Regions from separate parts of the Homo sapiens genome. Here all the other regions are linked to region 1. The links are contacts of gene promoters, found by promoter capture Hi-C in blood cells and fetal thymus (Javierre and others, 2016). All regions are on one chromosome and are shown on one strand. Each heading gives the region's core, a stretch centred on a gene start or on the middle of the fragment in contact. The rest is flanking DNA. Distances are from core to core; before and after follow the strand shown. Region 1 holds the start of CFAP206 (cilia and flagella associated protein 206). Region 2 overlaps AKIRIN2 (akirin 2). Region 3 has its middle 8.5 kb from the start of AKIRIN2.

Region 1 (3,216 bases), core at 73-2,572:
TGCGGTGCCATTGCACTCCAGCCTGGGCAACAAGAGCGAAACTGTGTCTCAGGAAAAAAAAAAAAAGGCTAAGCAGTATTTGTAGGGGAGGGAGGTAAAATTAATGAGAAACCCAAGAGTACAGCTTTAAAAGGAGAAATGCTTATTCCACCACATTCATTAAATGACCCTTCAGAACTGTACTAGAATCTTGGAAAACAATTCTTGCTCAGATCATTAAAATGATCTTTTCCGCACATCTAAAATAGAGTTCAGACTCTCGATAAAAAAAAGCATTTACTATAAGGAAAAAGTGGTAGGTTTTGATCGAGTTTTCTGATTTTCCTGAATATCAGTAACTAAGCACAATGGAAGTTGGCATGTAGAGTATAACAAAGGCAATATCAGGTAGATAAAGCCAACTCCTCAGCATTATTAGCTTTCCAATGGATGAGTACGAAGCACTAGGCATTTTGTCCAGTGAAACCAGATTGCCTGGATTCCATGGTGACCCGACCACTGTCCAGCTGTGAGACCTTGGGCACTTGCTTCACTTCTTTCCAGAGGTGTGAGGACTAAATTAGTCCTGTTTTTAGTGGTTACAACAGTGCGCGGCTTAAGGGAATCGCTTAAAACAGCTTATAATCAGTACTCCAAGATCACAGGCAGCGCATGCGCAAGTGCCAGTCAGTGGGAGAGTCCGTCGCGCTCCGGATCTGTGTGCGCGCTCCGGATCTGTGTGCGCGCTCCGGATCTGTGTGCGCGCTCCGGATCTGTGTGCGCGCTCCGGATCTGTGTGCGCGCTCCGGATCTGTGTGCGCGCTCCGGATCTGTGTGCGCGCTCCGGATCTGTGTGCGCATGCGCGCCGCTGCCGGGTCGCTAGGGACGCGGCTCAGCACCTTCCCTGCACCCACCCTCCAATTACTAAGTCTCCCGAGGTCCGGCTTCTGGGGTAGCCAGTGGAGCGAAACAGAAGCGGGAGGCCTCAGGCACCCGCGCAAAGGCTAGAGGGCAGCCCTGCAGCCCTGGGGTGGCGCCTCCGGCAGGAATGGACCGCTGTTCCAGCTCTGCGGCGGCGCAGCCTAAAGGATCGAGACTGAGAGCTAAGTCTCGACGAGGCAGGACGCGGTCCTCCAGCCGCCCGAGCTCCGCCAGCCGCCCCAAGCTCGCCGCCTGGCGGGGTACGCCTCCGGGTCAAGGGCGCGGAGCCCCGAGTAGGCTGACCTGGATCGGAATCGACAGCAGGAGCCGTGTCTGTCTGCTTCTGTCCTGGGGCCCTCACCGCGACGGTCGGAGCAGTTGGGCGCTCGCAGCCACCGCCGCGTAACCATGGAGATGGAAGGCTCCGGACCAGAGGGGGCGGGGCCAGGTGGGGGTGGGGCGGGGTCCCACTTTGAGGGTCTTTCCCCCAAAAGATGGGCTGGAAAAACTTTAAAAACAAAGGAATTTCAGGCAGAGACATCTTAACCTCCGTGGTTAAGACTGTGAAACACAAGTTCTCGTAAATAAGGATATTAACTTGCTAGCGTGGGAATGATGAGGCGGCTTTGAAAGCGGGGTGGGGGAGAGGGAGGAGCCAGTTGGAGAGGCTGGGAAAACGGAAGGGCTGTATCCTGGGCAAATAGAGTTCTTGTAAAAGTATCTAGTTTTAAAAAACAAAAGTAAAAAGTATCGAGGTTTTATTTCATGTCCCGTTGTTCAAAGGAAGTCTGTAACAGAACGCTCCAAGATGCCCGAAGAGAAAACTGCTCATTCAAGAAGCACATGATAAGAACACATTAGTGTCCGAGTCAAAATAATGAGGTTTTATCCCTTAACGATAATATCGTTAGGCCCACCTTCAGACGTGAAAGTGTGAAAAAGGATTAAATACTCATTAGAAGGAGAGCATCAAACAACAAGGTTTTATTTTTAAACAGTAATTTTTCTCAAACTGCAAACAAATATGCAGAATATGCTTTGCTTAAGGACATTCCCTGATTACTAGGAAATGAATCAACACAAAAACTCAAGAATATACATCATAATATAACACAATTTTATTTCCGCCTTCTAGAAAATGTTCCCGGAATGTGGAAGAAGCTTGTGTAAAAATAGATGTTCAGAGTAACAAGATTTATAATAGCACAGCCTTAGAAATCTAAACACGTTATTTAAGTAAAATATCAGGCAGGTATTTAAAATTATGTTAACAAAAACCTTGTGTTTGTCTTATATTTGTTAAAAGCCAAATGCGAAATTTTTATATAATATGACTTAAACTATATTGACATACATATAATGCACAAAAAGTGTAGGTCAGTTTTTCAAAATCACAGCAAGCAATTAGATCTAAGGATGGAATTATAGGTAAATTACTTTTATTTCTTTATACTTTTCTGTTTTTTCTAGATTTTTCCATAATGAGTATATATTGTCTTATGATCTATAAAACAAAATTTAAAAATACAAGGGAGATGAGACTGGCTATTTGTAGAGAATGAACCCAATTTAGATATACAAATATACTGTAAGTATACAAGGTAAAGCAACCAAAGGACGGTGAGATAGCAAAATTTTAACAGTGGTTGTAACTTTGTAATGGCTTATGGCTGATTTGTCTTCTTTATACTTTAAGATAGCTACCAAAATGTCTTCCATGAGCATATATTATATATTAGAATATTAAATATCTTTTAAGATGGTAAGAATAATACCATCATATTAAGTATAGTTTTAAACTAATGGGCAAATCCTGGCACAAATACTCCCTGAAGTATGTTTGATACTGTTAATTCCTACTTAATGTCAATGTTTTCTTCTCTTTCTGTTACTAATTTAACCCTGTGTTGGGAATGACAGTGTTCTCTTTTAAAAAAAAAAATCTCTCAACCTCTTTCTCAGTGAGAGTGGCCTGTGACATGGTCTAGCCAATGAGATGTAAGTGTAATCACTGGATGAGGTGTCAGGGAAAGCACTTCCATTTTATGTCTATTGCCTTTCCTTTTCTTTCTACTTGAAATGAGAATATGCTGGCTGAAGCTCCAGCAGCCTTGCTGTGAACATAAACATGAGGGTCACATCTTAAGGATGGTGGAACAAAAATGAAAAAGGAACCTGAGTTCCTGGTAACGTCATGGAACAGCCCTATCAGCTTCTTGACTGGCTATCTCCAGACTTTGCATGAGAGAAGATAAACTCCTATTTTATTAAGCTACTATTATTTGGGTTTTTTGCTACATTCAGCCAAACTGAAT
Region 2 (3,111 bases), core at 529-3,028, 280 kb before region 1:
AGCCACTGCGCCCGACCAGTTATTGCCTTCTTGACAATCCCATTTTTTGAAGTTTCAGTGTATGAAAGTATAAATTATGCATAGTACTGATGTCTATTCTAACTCCTGTTTTCTAAAAATTAACTTTCCTCGTTGTGATATTTATTTATTTTTGAGACAAGAGTCTTACTCTGTCACCCAGGCTGGAGTGCAGTGGCACGATCTCGGCTCACTGCAATCTGCCTCCTGGGTTCAAGCGATTCTCCTGCCTTAGCCTTCTGAGTAGCGGGGATTACAGGCGTGCGCCGCCACACCCAGCTAATTTTTGTATTTTTAGTAGAGACAGGGTTTTGCCATGTTGGCCAAGCTGGTCTTGAACTCCTGACCTCAGGTGATCTGCCCACCTCTGTCTCCCAAAGTGCTGGGATTACAGGCATGAGCCACCGCGCCCAGCCCATTGTGATTTATTTTAACATTAAATGCTAATAGAATTTTGATTAAGTGTAGTAATGTACTACTGGAGAGGGTAGTAGATGTTAAGAACTTGGGCCCTGAGGTCAAACCTGGCTCTGCCATGTTCAAGCCGTGTGACATTGCAGAAGACACTGAAGCAGAGCCTCATTTTTCTCATCTCAGGAAATGTGCACATGATGATAGTAGCATATGCCTCTTAGGGTTGTGAGAATTAAGAGCATTTACTGGCCAAGTGATGGAAATGGTCTCAAGAAGGCAACCTCAAATGGGACTTTTACTCACCAGCAAGTTTGCCTTTCAGTGACTAAGCCTGCCTTCTACAAAAGAGTTGCCATCAAATCACAGTTTTTTCATTGTTTTTAGTACCAGCACTACTGACATTTGAGCCTGTCCTGTTCTAGTATCATCGAGGATTAAACAATTATTAAAGCACTGTATATAGTGAGGGAAAGATTCCACTTTTCTCCAAAGTAACTTTATCCTCTTGATTATTCCATTTCTTCTCTCAATTGGATCTTTGCTTTTGGCTTTATATATTCACAAGCCTTCCATGAGAAAGTAAAAGAACAAAACATACTCATTTTCCTCCAGCTATCTTCCAGATTTCCTCCACTTCAAAATCAAATTCAGAGAGCTTTCAAATAGTCTGTTTGCTTCCATTTCTTCAGTTCTTAATTCCTGACATGCCTCAAGCAGCTCCTGTCAGGTCATCAGTGACTTCCATGACACTCAATCAGTCCTCCTCTTATTTGACCTTTCTTTCAGCATTCTGCCTGCTGGCACACTCCTTTCTTTTTGAAATGGCCTTTTTCTCCTTTGACTACAATTTCCCTCTACTCCCTAGCTGTTCTTCTCTTTACCTGGGCATTAAACCTTGCAGTTCTTTAGTTCTAGCTTTAGCTCCATGCTTATGTCACTTAATAGCTCCCTAAGCAGTCACATGCCTGCTCCTGACTTCAGTTTCCATTTACAGATGTCTCTTTAATTTGTATCTTCAGTTGGTTCAGACAGTTCCTCTTTAGTTGCAGCCATGGGAAATGTGGACTTTTTTTTTTTTTTTTTTTTTTTTTAAGATGAGGTTTTGCCCTGTTTCCCAGGCTGGAGTGCAGTGGTGCGATCTCGGCTCACTGCAACCTCTGCCTCCTGGGTTCAAGCAATTCTCCTGCCTCAGCCACCCAAGTAGCTGGGATTACAGATGTGTATCACCATGCCCGGCTAATTTTTGTATTTTTAGTAGAGACAGTTTCACCATGTTGGCCAGGCTGGTCTCCAACTCCTAGCCTCAAGTGATCTGCCCACCTTGGCCTCCAGAGTGCCGGGATTATAGGTGTGAGCCACCACGCCCAGCCTAATTTGGACTTTTTATCGTCAGATCTTGGTAGCCTTCGCTCCACCACTAGAAGTCAGAACTTTTGTGAAATCGATTGACTTTTAAATGTTCACAACTAATTTACAAAATACATGGGATAAATAAGAGATGTATGTAGACTTCTAATGAGTGTCTTATGGTGTGAGAGGTGGTCTTTTTGTTGTTGTTGTTGAAACCGTCTCACTCTGTTGCCCAGGCTGGAGTGCAGTGGTGCAGTCTCCGCTCGCTGCAACCTCCATCTCCTGGATTCAAGTGATTCTCCTGCTTCAGCTTCCCTAGTAGCTGGGATTACAGGTGCCCGCCATTATGCCCGTTTAACTTTTGTATTTTTAGTAGAGATAGGGTTTTACCATGTTGGCCAGACTGGTCTTGAACTCCTGACCTCAAGCCATCTGCCCACCTTGGCCTCCCAAAGTGCTGGGATTACTGGCATGAGTGACCGTGCCTGGCCTGAGAGGTGGTCTTAATTCCTCTTTTTAATAAGTGGTCATGTTGGTAAAGTAAATGAATTGCTTCATCATCAGTCACATAATGACGAATATGAATTTCCTTTTTTAAAGTGTATAAGGAGAGATGAAATAATCATTGTATATAGGTTAATGTCATGTAATGAGTTTTCCTAAGTAGGTCCAATCAAGTTAAATTAATTTGCAGAATATTTTCCTCCTACAGGAGGGGTATGTCTGACTTAGAATTACACTTGATCTTAGCCAAAAGGCTGAGAAGCAATGAACTGACAACTGCAAAAACCATTCAGGTGAGGGTGGCAAAATGATTTTAAGTTAGCTTAGGTATTTTCCTACTTGTAATAACCTTGCTGCTAATGTCTTGCTTTCCTTCCTCTCCACTCCTTAGTATGTCCAATAGTAAACCACTTTTTAAAAAATGTTCAATTAAGAGTTGGTTTTTTTTGTTTTTTTGGTTTTTTTTTTTTTGAGATGGAGTTTCGCTGTTGTTGCCCAGGCTGGAGTTCAATGGCGTCATCTCAGCTCACTGAAACCTCTGCCTCCCAAGCTCAAGCGATTCTCAGCCTCCCAAGTAGCTGGGATTACAGGCTCCTGCCACCATGCTCAGCTAATTTTTTTGTAGTTTTAGTAGAGACAGGGTTTCACCATGTTGGCCAGGCTGGCCTCCAACTCCTGACCTCAAGTGACCAACTGCCTTGGCCTCCCAAAGTGCTAGGATTACAGGCGTGAGCCACCGCCCGTGGCCAAGAGAGTTGTTATTTTAAGCAGGGGCTAGAAACTTTAAATACGCATAGTTCCAGATGTGTAAATGATTTAAAGTAA
Region 3 (3,173 bases), core at 659-3,158, 300 kb before region 1:
ACCTGGTAGAATCCAAATCTGCATTATAACAAGATCCCCCAGGTGACTCACAGGCATCTTAAATTTGAGAAGCTCTGCTCTAGTTCACTTAACTTCTTGGCAGATGTGTCAGTGACACTATGCCACGGTCCTCAGGTGTGTGGCAAGCCCTCTGTGAGGCCACAGAGATACTAAGATAACTAATAACTAAGACATGACCCCTGTGATAGAAAGTAATAGTCTCTACTCTGCTCCATTTTAGACTGTGTGACCTTAGGCATGAGCCACAAATTCAATAGTAAAATGGGATTAACACTATGACCATGTAGGATTTTTATTAGGATAAGCTGAGAACACACCTGGGCCATGGTGGGATCCTCTGTAAACAATAACTTTTATTAGGTTGGTGCAAAAGTCATTGCAGGTTTTGCCATATTCCCCTCACATATTGCCAACCTAGGCTGTAACTCACCTATCTAGGCAGGATTAAAGTGACACACACCCTAAAACCCAACTGCACTGATTGGGAACTTTAGATGTTATCTGAGTTCCCTCTTTTGCACTCTCTCTAGTGATATTTGTGTACATTTCTCCTCCACTAGACTATAAGCGTAAGGGAGGGGCAGTGTCTTCTTCATCTTGCTAGCCTCCGTGTTGTCAAACAGTGTCTTAGACATAGCAGACTCGCAGTACATGGTTGTTTAAACAAGAAAGACTACTCTAGGTGTTCAAAATAATTTTTGTGTGCACCCCAATCTCATCTTTCACGTCACTTTTCATATTCCAAAATAAACTGCCAACACACAGATTTAATGAACCCAATCACTATTATCTTCTGTTGTAACCTAAAAGGCACAGTAGGTTTTAGAGGTTGGAAATTAGGCCATAATCCTGACAGTCACTACTCCTGTACTGCATGCTTATCAGAGAACATTCAATTGGGCTGGCTGATTCTCTTCTCAATGAATACTCATGGACTTTCTTTCAGAAGGGTTGTGAATTTTTAAATTGACAATTGTGCATGACCAAAACATTAAAAGTTGAGACTCCATTAGAATTGGAATGTCAGCTGGAGAATGGTTGGGAATATTAGTTTGACAGTTTTGAGTCTGAACTCCCACTCTTCTTTGCGAAGACATGTAAGAAGTCTCTGAAACACAATAGAAGATAATAAGGAACATCCTAGAAAGGCAGTCAGAGGTGAGAATTAAACTCACTACCCAGGAGGAAGACAAAATTGAATAAAAGTCATTGGCAGCATTCTGCTTGGGTGTGTATGTGGTGGGGGCAGCTGGCTCAGAAACTGGACCTCAGCAGCCGTAACTGGACTGTAGGCAATCTAATAGACAAAAAGGCTTGGGGAGATTTTGGAGTTTTCCTTAGCATGATAATAATAGACATGGCTAACTAAGGGTTTATTATGCACTAGACAGTATCGTGTGATGTACTGGCTTTTAATTTCCAGATTGATGGTAACTGGGATGACTTTTTTTCTCCAGAAAAAAAATTGTATTTTATTTTTCCAAATTATTATGATAAATGGGACTTTTGAAAAAGAATTTTCAGACAAGCTTGTAAGATAGAAAGTAAGCTTTGAAGGTAGGAATGTCTTATTCCCATGGACCCACTCCATGACCCCACTACTCAGAGGCAAACCATACCAGGAGTGTGAACTGTCTCCTTTAAGTACAAGATGGGGACAATTCCTTGTACTCATCTGGCCACAATATATAACAAACTGTGGCACACAAGTTTCAGATAAAATCTAGCAATTTTTTGAGTACTCTATAAAGCCCTAACTTTAACACAAGCCCTGAGGACTGCAAGGGACCAATAATCAGTCCCAAGGTGATGCTTGTTATCAGTGGGTGGGGTTAGGAAAGCTGCTCCTGGGGTAAGAGTTGAGCCTCTTTTATCATTTCCTTCACACCATGCACCTGGCTAACCCTTATAACAATGGGCTTGCAGAGGAAGCCCAAAATATTGGGGAAGTGCAGGCATCATCTCATTCTCTCAAAAAGCCTCATCAGAGAAGGTTTGTGGTGGCATCATGGAACCACAGGACAAAAGGCACAAGAGGGAACGAGAGCCTGACACAGACAGTGACACCAATTCTGAGTCAGGCTTGGACTTAAGCAAGACAACGGAACAGACAGCTGCAGTAGAAGGTGTGAGGGAATTCTAAAACTAAATGATGAGGCGGGGCTAGAGACAACCTTTAGGGGCTTGAGGTCCCCCACCAATGGGGAGATAGTGTGTGAAGCTTTTCATTATTCATCAAATGTTTACTGTTTAGTTTATAGCTGGCACTCTGCAGTGAATAGAACATGCATGGTCCAAAGTATTTCATGTATTTAACTTTCCAAACAACTGAAACTTTAAATTATCTGAATCTTAAATACCTTCTATGGGATATTTTCTTTTTCTTTTCTTTCTTTTTTTTTTTTTGAGATGGAGTTTCGCTCTTGTTGCCTAGGCTGGAGTGCAATGGCATGATCTCTGCTCACCACAACCTCTGCCTCCCAGGTTCAAGTGATTCTCCTGCCTCAGCCTCCTGAATAGCTGGGATTACAGGCATGCGCCACCACGCTTGGCTAATTTTGTGTTTTTAGTAGAGACAGGGTTTCTCCATGTTCGTCAGGCTGGTCTCGAACTCCCGACCTCAGGTGATCTGCCCGCCTCGGCCTCCCAAAGTGCTGGGATTACAGGTGTGAACTACTGCACCCAGCCAGGATATTTTCTTTTATTATTATTATTATTTTTTAAAATTATACTTTAAGTTTTAGGGTACATGTGCACAACATGCAGGCTTGTTACATATGTATACATGTGCCATGTTGGTGTGCTGCACCCATTAACTCGTCATTTATATTAGGTATATCTCCTAATGCTATCCCTCCACCCTCCCCCCACCCCACAACAGGCCCCGGTGTGTGATGTTCCCCTTCCTGTGTCCAAGTGTTCTCACTGTTCAATTCCCACCTATGAGTGAGAACATACGGTGTTTGGTTTTTTGTCCTTGCGATAGTTTGCTAAGAATGATGGTTTCCAGCTTCATCCATGTCCCTACAAAGGACATGAACTCATCCTTTTTTATGGCTGCATAGTATTCCAAGGTGTATATGTGCCACATTTTCTTAATCCAGTCTATCATTGTTGGACATTTGGCTTGCTTCCAAGACTTTGCTATTGTG

The links. The method cuts DNA at HindIII sites, captures the fragments that hold promoters and counts their contacts. A CHiCAGO score of 5 or more calls a contact.
Region 2: a contact is called between a fragment that was not itself captured here and the fragment with the promoter of CFAP206 in region 1, in 2 of 17 cell types (fetal thymus and naive CD8 T cells). The highest score is 6.6, in fetal thymus.
Region 3: a fragment that was not itself captured here is called in contact with the fragment with the promoter of CFAP206 in region 1 in 2 of 17 cell types (total CD8 T cells and fetal thymus); the score reaches 6.3 in total CD8 T cells.

The regions. Positions count from the first base shown.
Region 1 is chr6:87,406,078-87,409,293 of GRCh38, reverse strand. It overlaps CFAP206 (cilia and flagella associated protein 206), which reads right to left and starts at 1,322. Exons shown (of 13, transcript NM_001031743.3): 1 at 1,205-1,322. The HindIII fragment of the contact is 4,290 bases long and covers 1-2,064 here.
Region 2 is chr6:87,689,853-87,692,963 of GRCh38, reverse strand. All of the region lies in intron 1 of AKIRIN2 (akirin 2), which reads left to right. Among named protein-coding and RNA genes, the nearest start is that of AKIRIN2, 11 kb to the left of the region's middle. The HindIII fragment of the contact is 9,255 bases long and covers 1-3,111 here.
Region 3 is chr6:87,709,141-87,712,313 of GRCh38, reverse strand. No RefSeq gene overlaps it. Among named protein-coding and RNA genes, the nearest start is that of AKIRIN2, 8.5 kb to the right of the region's middle. RefSeq lists an enhancer at 1,973-2,112. The HindIII fragment of the contact is 672 bases long and covers 1,573-2,244 here.